Linked DNA regions of Homo sapiens: all the other regions are linked to region 3. Evidence: promoter capture Hi-C in human tissues and cell types (Jung and others, 2019). All regions are on one chromosome and are shown on one strand. Each heading gives the region's core, a stretch centred on a gene start or on the middle of the fragment in contact. The rest is flanking DNA. Distances are from core to core; before and after follow the strand shown. Region 1 overlaps KIF13B (kinesin family member 13B). Region 2 overlaps KIF13B (kinesin family member 13B). Region 3 holds the start of KIF13B (kinesin family member 13B).

Region 1 (2,740 bases), core at 148-2,647, 110 kb after region 3:
ATTTTTTAAATGATAAGACTTGAAAGTGAAAATTCTTGATCCATGGGCTGCAGAGTGGATGTTGTGTTATCAGGCATGAAAACAACATTCATATCCTTGTACATCTCCATCAGAGCTCTTGGGTGATCAGGTGCATTATCAATGAGCAGTAATATTTTGGAAGGAATCTTCTGAGCATTAGGTCTCAACAGTGGGCTTAAAATATTCAGCAAACTGTGATGTAAACAGACGTACTGTCATCCAGGCTTTGTTCCATTTACAGAGCACAGGCAGAGCTGATTTAGCATAATTCTTAAGGGCCCTAGGATTTTCAGAATGGTCAGTAAGCATTGGCATCAACTTAAAAGTCACCAGCTACATTAGCCCCTAAGAGAATCAGCCTGCCATTGAAGCTTTGAAGCCAGGCATTGACTTCTCTTCTCTAGCTAAGAAAGTTCGAGATGACATCTTCTTCCAGTAGAAGTCTGTTTCATCTACATCAAAAATCTCATCAGTGATCTTGCTGCAGCTTCTCCATCAGCACTTGCTGCTTCACCTTGCACTTTTATGTTACAGAGGTGGCTTCTTTCCTTAAACCTCATGAACCGACCTCTGCTAGCTTCCAACTTTTCTTCTGTTGCTTCCTCACTTCTCCCAGTTCATAGAATTAAAGAGAGTTAGGACCTTGCTCTGGGTTAGGGTTTGGTTGAGGGAATATTGTGGCTGGGTTGATTTTCCATCCAGACCACTGAACTTTCTCCATATCAGCAGGAAGACTGTTCAGCCTTATCATTCATGTAGTCGCTGGAGAAGCACCTTTAATTTCCTTCAAGAGCTTTTCATGTGCACTCACAGCTTGGCCAACTGTTGGTACAGGAGGCCTGGCTTTTCGTCCTGTCTTGGTTTTCGATGTGATTCCTCACTGAGCTTAATTATTTCCACCTTTTGAGAGATGTGTGACTCTTTCTTTTACTTAAACAGTTAGAGGTTATTGTAGTTATTAATTAGCCTAATTTCAATATGGTTGTGTCTCGGGGAATAAAGAGACCCGAGGAGAGGGAGAGAGTCAAAACCCATACTACATTTACTAAATTTACCATTTTACATGGGTGCAGTTCACGATGTTCCAAAAACAATTAGAGAGGTGAGGTCAGAGGTCCCTTATCACAGACCTCCATGACAGACGTGAAGTGAGCACGTGCTGTTTGAAAAGTATCTCCTGTAGCCTTGCTTAACATAGGATAGCGTTTGTAAAAAATGTGATATCTGCAAAGCACAATAAAGCAAAGCGCAGTAAAATGAGATGTGCCTGTGCTTTGTACCATAAACATTTTAGGTGAATCAGCAAAGGAGTAAATGCAAATATTAAAATTCACCAAGAACAGGTTGTGTTTGGGGGAATTATTGTTTTCCCTAGTAACTATATCTCTATGTTATTGGGAAATTAAAGCAGAAGACATGATACTGTACTCATCATTCACGTTTGATCTCTTCTCCTTACAGAACATTTGTAAATGGGTCATCTGTCTCCAGTCCAATACAGCTACACCATGGGGACAGGATATTATGGGGAAACAATCATTTCTTCAGGTATGATGTTGTTCATGTCCCTTAAAGAGATTGTTGAAGATTGTGCTCTGAAATAGAAAATACATGTTAAAAAGTAAACCTTTCTCTACAACAATTATGTTATTGTGTGTGTACGTATATATTTGCTGCATGTGTATTATATATGTGTGTGTGTGTTCATTCACTGTATATGGTCTGAACCCTAGGGACATATAAACAATATACTCTGGAAAAATACTGAGTTTACCTACATAGTTTTTCCCTTTTATTTCCCACTAGAAGATGATTCTTTTGCCGTGTGGTGTAAGAATTTATTAATGTTTTTCTGACATGTTTATCTTTTTTTTTATTTATTTTTTTACGGAAACGTAGTCGTGGTTTTAGTTTCCTTATCTATAAAATAAGGTTCTTTTAGGAATTCTTTTCAGCTCTAAGTCATGGCAAATTTTACTGTAATGGGTTAGACAGATCATTTATTCCCCTGACAGAACCAGAAATCTAAAGGAACATAGTTGTTAGTGTTGGCTAAGCCTCTCAAAAAAAGTCATGGCTAAAGTCTGGTCACTGTCTTGGCATCTCTCTGTGGCCTGAAGTTGGCCATGCTGCACTGCCGTCAAAGCAGCATTCAGGTACAGGAAGAAAAAGGAGAACCATAGCTGCACTAGCCCTGACTGTCCTGTTCATCCAAAAAAACAGAGAAGTCTTCCCAGAGTCCCCAGCAATCTTCTCCTTCTGTCTCCTTTGCTAGAATTTGCCTCTTAGCTACAAAGGGGGCTGAGAAAGACTGTGTCTCACCTGGGGCTGTACATGTGGTTTCCCAAACAAAATTGATGTTGTGTTGACAAGGCAGGCAGGCTGGATATTGTAAAAAGTTAACATCCTGGTCTCTTGTTATTGTCACTGGTCGGTGTGCTCCAGATGTCATACTGACTTTTCTGTAGCTAACAGAGATCCTTTGCCATGGGCCAGTGATATTTTGGTTACTGAGAAAAGGGTAGATGGGCACAAAGAGCATGGAGCATTTTTTTCCTTCCTAAATTAAATGACGTGTAAACTGCTTTGTTTTGTGTTCAAAACCCTCATCGTTTGGATTAAGCTGATCTTTCCAGCTTTAGCTCTAGTGTGCTATACAAATTTTGAATATCCCGTTGTTTTACCCATTTCTCCAGGGAATATGAACATTTCCATTTTC
Region 2 (2,700 bases), core at 18-2,517, 96 kb after region 3:
TAAAGTGTTGGGGATGGGGGGCTGCCGTCATCATCATCTCAAGGCATGACCGGTGTGGGGAGGTGTCTGCTCACTTACATGGTTGTCAGCAGGGTCCAGAAGATCTGCTTCCAAACTCGTGCCTGTGGGCCTCTCTTCGTAGGGCCACCTCACTTCACGGCAGCCCGTTTCCCCCAGAGTGAAAGAAAACACCCAAGACAGAAGCCACCATCTTCTTTGAATCTACCCTTAGAGGTGACATGCCATCACTTTCATTCCTTGGAGACCGATGAATAAGTCCTGGCCACCCTCAAGGGAAGCAGAGAGTACTAGGGTGTGGGCGCCAGGAGGTCGCCTGCATAGGCAGCCTTGTCTGTGGTGCAGCAGAGCGCAGTGGGCTTGATGCCCCAAGTCTTCTTTTGTGCTTGAGTTAAATCTCTATTTTTAATGTTCTCAAGTGAGGGTGGTTTTTCATTCTGTTGGAAGCCAGTCGGTCCTAAAGCCGTTTCACTGTACTTAGCAGTTTGAGTGTCATGAAGACAGTATCTCTTCTCAGGACCATTGTCTGAACGGTGGAAGTGCTTCTGTAGAACTTGCAATCTTAGTAGCTTTTGAAGTGCTATCAGAGCGAAGAAAATGAAGTTGCTTTAACATACTTTTTTGTGAGACTATAATTGTACCTTATGTTTTAAAAACTTTACAAGGTGCTTGATAGCTTGTAACAGCAACTTTCTGAGCCATTATTAGGCTTCACAGAGACTCCCAGTACAGGGGGTTGTGGAGGAGGTTGCCAAGTAAGTATCATGCTTGTTCCTCTAAGGAGGAAGATGTTGGAGGCATTTAAGGAGTCCTTTTTTATTCCGAGTAGTCTGTGTTCTTGTGGTATCATCTTGCCTATAAAATAGGGCAGATGACTTAGAATTAATTTGTGTTAAACCGAAATAAAGGTAGGTTTCATGACATTTCCCCGTCCTTTATCAAAGGCTAAAACTCCCTATTTTTAGTGCAATGGCTTGGCAGAGAAGAAACAGCACAGGACTCGAGTCCATACACCTGCATTTTAGCCCTGGCTCTGTCATTGAATGTGTTTGACCTGGGGAAATTTGTTCACCATTTTTGATTTCAGGTTTCTCATATGACGTCTTCTTCCAACTTTAATATGCTACTCAACTTTCTGTTTTCTCCTGTAGGACAGCCTCGGGGGTAACAGCAAGACCGCCATGGTGGCTACTGTGAGTCCTGCAGCTGATAACTATGATGAAACCCTCTCAACTCTGCGGTATGCAGATCGAGCCAAGCACATTGTAAACCACGCTGTGGTGAATGAGGACCCTAATGCCCGAATTATCCGGGATCTCCGGGAAGAAGTTGAGAAACTCCGGGAGCAGCTGACCAAAGCAGAGGTAGGAGGCACCACCGCGTGCGCCCTGTGAGTCCAGGAAGAGGAATCAGCCTAGAGCTTGAATTTCCTTCCCCTGGGCTGTGAGGGATGAGTACTCTACTTAAAATTTGCGAATTTCTTACAGCAAGAGAACTTTGGGATGAGTAATAAATAAAGGAAGGTTGTCATATTAGAATTCCAAAGAGGTTTTACAGATGTTAAAAAGATTGAACAGGAGCAAATAGAATTGAGAAAATGTTTGCATTTCTATTCAGGCGGCAGACAAAAGAGAGAGGTATAATAGAATAGGAGAGGAAGAGAGATGCTGGAGACCATGTGTATGTAATTTTAATTTTTGTGCAGAAAATGATGGAGAGCAGGATTTTTGTTGAATCTCATTTGTTACCTGGTAGAAGTCGGAATGAAAATCTTGAGTCTTCTACACCTTCATAATCTAGCTTTTCCATGTTGTGGATTAATTACGTTTGTAGAAAATATTTTGTAGTAGAAGTACCCATGTATTTAGTGGTACTCTATTACAGCTGTTTTCTGTGTATTCTGTAATGGATAATGTTGCATTAATAAATTTGAAAACCTACCAACTCTGACCTGCAATCCCAAGTGCTCATCTTCTTGGGAAAGTGGAATGAAATATTAGATTCAGGATTCCTACTTTTTTTTTTTTTTTTTGAGGTGGAGTTTCACTCTTGTTGCCCACGCTGGAGTGCAATGGTGTGATCTCAGCTCACTGCAACCTCTGCCTCCTGGGTTCAAGTGATTCCCCTGCCTCAGCCTCCTGAGTAGCTGGGATTACAGGCGCACGCCACCACGCCCAGCTAATTTTGTAGTTTTTATAGAGACAGGGTTTCTCCATGTTGGTCAGGCTGGTCTTGAACTTGAACTCCTGACCTCAGGTGATACGCCCGCCTCGGCCTCCCAAAGTGCTGGGATTACAGGCGTGAGCCACCGTGCTCGGCCAGGATTCCTACTTTCATTAGCATTTCTCTTCCCACAGTTACTCAGCACTGTGGGGCTCTTTCTGGAGTTTGCTTTCTTTCTCATACCTGTTTTCTGGGAATAAATCAGTAAGAGACATGGTCAGGATGATTATCTTGATCGTATTTTTACCTGTTGAATTTTATCCTGTTTTTATAGGAATAATTTTATAGTCCATGAAGACTGTTGTCTCCTTGGTGTTAATAACACCATCCAGTCTGCAACATGTACACATTTAGTCTGTACATATGTGGATAAATTCCTGAAGTCATCAATAAGGGCTAGAATGAATCATGTGTCTGAGTCTAGATGTATAACCTATTAGGATTTTAAAGATAAACCCT
Region 3 (2,700 bases), core at 70-2,569:
TATTTTTATACTTTTTGACAACATTGCTTGTATTGAAGATACTCAATAACAGGATGGTTGGTAAAAGGGCAAGTCTTACCAGCTTTCTGTATTTACTCATCTGTAAAATGGTTCTGAGTTCTATTACTATCATTTAAACACATCTAAGCAGGGGTCACAAACCCACAAGGTCCAGGCGCATGTGTGGTAAAGCCACCTGGAGGGGGGCCGTGGTGAAGTGGAGAGACGGGTCTCTGATAAAGGTGGCTGCTGCTATTTAGTTCCAATCCACTCTGTCCAATATGTAATGTAGGCCCAGTACTGCATGCACAAATCTGATTTCACACTCTGTTACCCAAGCTGGTCTCAAACTCCTGGCCTCAAGCAATCCTCCTGCCTCAGCATCCTAAAATGCTGGGATTCCAGGTGTGAGCCCCTGCACCTGGCCACAAATCTGATTTTTATGTGTTGGCCAACACTGTTGGGCCAAACAGAACATGTTTGCGTGCTGGCTCTGGCACCCAGGCCACCTGTTAGAATGTCTGCCAGGGCTAATAAAAAGCTAATTTTAGTGTGGCCTCATTCATTAATTCATGCAATTAATGTTTATGGGTCTCTACTAAAGGCTAGGTTACACATATGTTAATCTTATTTAAAAATGTACCTATTTTACTAGGTATTAGTATCATATCCACTTTTCATATTAAAGACAAGCCCAGAGCGGTCAAATAACTTGCCCCTGGTCACACAGTGGGAAGCGCTGAGGTGGGCTTTGAACTCAGATGGTTTTCAGAGCCCAAGGTCCTGTCTCAAAGGAGGGGGACTCACAGGACAATGTTAACCCGTGGACCTATGGACACTCCCAGAAAACGTGATTTGCAACTTGTCGTGAAGGACGAGCTCAGCAAACAAGGCCGGACGTCAATCCAGGCAGAGGAAATAACTTGAGCCAGGGATCAAACACTAAGATTGGCAGGAAATGAGCAGGAAGAGGTAGCGGGGTCCCTGACGCCATCTATTCAATTGTTTTTCAGAAGAGGTATCAGCTCTTGAAGGCTTACTTCTCAATACTGGCTGCGAGAGCAAGAATGGTGTGTAATTTACAAAAGCCGTCATTGCTGTAGGTAAGTTGTAGCAAACGACTCGCGCCCGAGCATTCCCGCCCCCGCCTTCGCTGCGGCCCCGCCCACGACGACCCTGGGGAACTACAAGTCCCGCCATACAGCGGGGAGCGCCCGGAGCTCGCGCCGGCCCCGCCCCCAGCCCGGTCCCCACCCCCGGCTCCGCCCCCGGCCCCCTCCCGCCGGGTCAACCCCGAAGAGTCGCCGGTGGCCGCGGCAGACGGAAGCCGAACGAGTTCCTCGGCGGCTGCAGGATGGGGGACTCCAAAGTGAAAGTGGCGGTGCGGATACGACCCATGAACCGGCGAGGTGAGAGCCGAGCCCTCCTGGGCCGCCGGGGCGGAGGCGGCAGGTGCCTGGCGCGCCCTTCCCTCGGCCGCCGTGGGGGGTCCGGCGGCCCCGCCCCTATAGTCAGCGGCGGGGCGCGAGGAGGGGCCCGGGGACCCTGAAACCCGCTCCCGCGCTGAGACGCCCGGCTCCCTCTTCTCCCCTCCCTTCCCCCCTGGCCAGCCCCGTCCCTGGCGCCGTCGGGCCCCTCGTGCCGGCCCCGCTGCCCCTTCCGCCTGCGCCCGCCCCGCCCCTGCGCCCTTTTGCCCTCTCGTCTCCCCCGGAGGTTCCCGAGGGCGCCCTCGGCCCTCGCGCCCAGCCTCGTCCTGGCCCCTCAGCCTCGCTCCTTCCCCGCCAGCTGTCATCGTCGCCCCCGCGCGCGGGTCGCCAGCCCCTGCAGCCCGCCTCGGGACCGCCCGGGACCCCCCGGGACCCCGCGTCTCGCCCGGGTCGCCCAAGCCTGCACCGCCTTGGCCCGCGGCGGGAAGAAGGGCAGGGGGCCAGGCGGGTGCCCCGCGGCGAGTTCCTTCCACCTGGGCGTCCTGAGATTGGGGTCAGGTGGAGGAGATGCCCTTTTCGTTGTTTTTGGACAGTTGAGAAAGTTTTGGTTTTGCCTGAAGTCTCATTCATCATCTCTCAATAAATAGCTAAAGTGCCAAGATTCTTGTGGAATTGTATCTTTCTGACATTCTCTTAACTCTGCAGGGAGTGTAGAGAAGGCAGATAAACCGAGTACATTTAAATAATCTGTAGACCCGGGGAGTGGAGAGAACCCCAAAAGTCAGGGGAGGAGGTGGGCTGGGTCTTGGCTTTGATAGTCAAAGCAGCATGACTGGGTGAGTTGCTTTAAATAAGATAATGTGTTTGAAAACGCTTTATATACAAGGTCCTGTCATTGGGGGTCACTATTACTGTCTCAGGAGATGACTTTGCCATTGATGAGACTTTGAACTAATTAGAATCATTTAAGTACCAGAGACAAAGTTGTAGCTTCTTAGCAAAATCAAGTGTTGTTTAATTTTTATGTAGAAATTATAGGTTGTTTTCCTCTTCTTTGCTTTCTTTTGTATATATTGAGACATACAGATCAACCAGTTGACATAAGCTTTGTTGGTTTGTCCTTCTCGGGGAAATTGGTTTCTCGCTTGGAGTTATCTCATCTATGGGAATTGTTTTGTCCTGTTCCTGCTAGGTCCGATTAAAGCTGTCAGGTGAGTTTTTTTCCCTAAGAACTTAATTACTTTAAGTTCTCAACTAGTGCAAGATTGAGTCC

The links. Contacts are between HindIII fragments. The study calls those that stand out against the background at their distance.
Region 1: a contact is called between a fragment that was not itself captured here and the fragment with the promoter of KIF13B in region 3, in 4 of the 25 tissues and cell types used here (H1 embryonic stem cells, IMR-90 fibroblasts, dorsolateral prefrontal cortex and 1 more).
Region 2: a fragment that was not itself captured here is called in contact with the fragment with the promoter of KIF13B in region 3 in 2 of the 25 tissues and cell types used here (bladder and lymphoblastoid cells).

What each region holds. Positions count from the first base shown.
Region 1 is chr8:29,149,126-29,151,865 of GRCh38, reverse strand. KIF13B (kinesin family member 13B) reads left to right here. Exons shown (of 40, transcript NM_015254.4): 15 at 1,483-1,569. Among named protein-coding and RNA genes, the nearest start is that of KIF13B, 110 kb to the left of the region's middle. The HindIII fragment of the contact is 7,540 bases long and covers 1-2,740 here.
Region 2 is chr8:29,166,055-29,168,754 of GRCh38, reverse strand. It overlaps KIF13B (kinesin family member 13B), which reads left to right. Exons shown (of 40, transcript NM_015254.4): 11 at 1,170-1,382. Among named protein-coding and RNA genes, the nearest start is that of KIF13B, 96 kb to the left of the region's middle. The HindIII fragment of the contact is 8,522 bases long and covers 1-2,700 here.
Region 3 is chr8:29,261,689-29,264,388 of GRCh38, reverse strand. KIF13B (kinesin family member 13B) reads left to right here and starts at 1,319. Exons shown (of 40, transcript NM_015254.4): 1 at 1,319-1,409. The coding sequence starts at 1,355. RefSeq lists a silencer at 1,112-1,941. The HindIII fragment of the contact is 11,996 bases long and covers 1-2,700 here.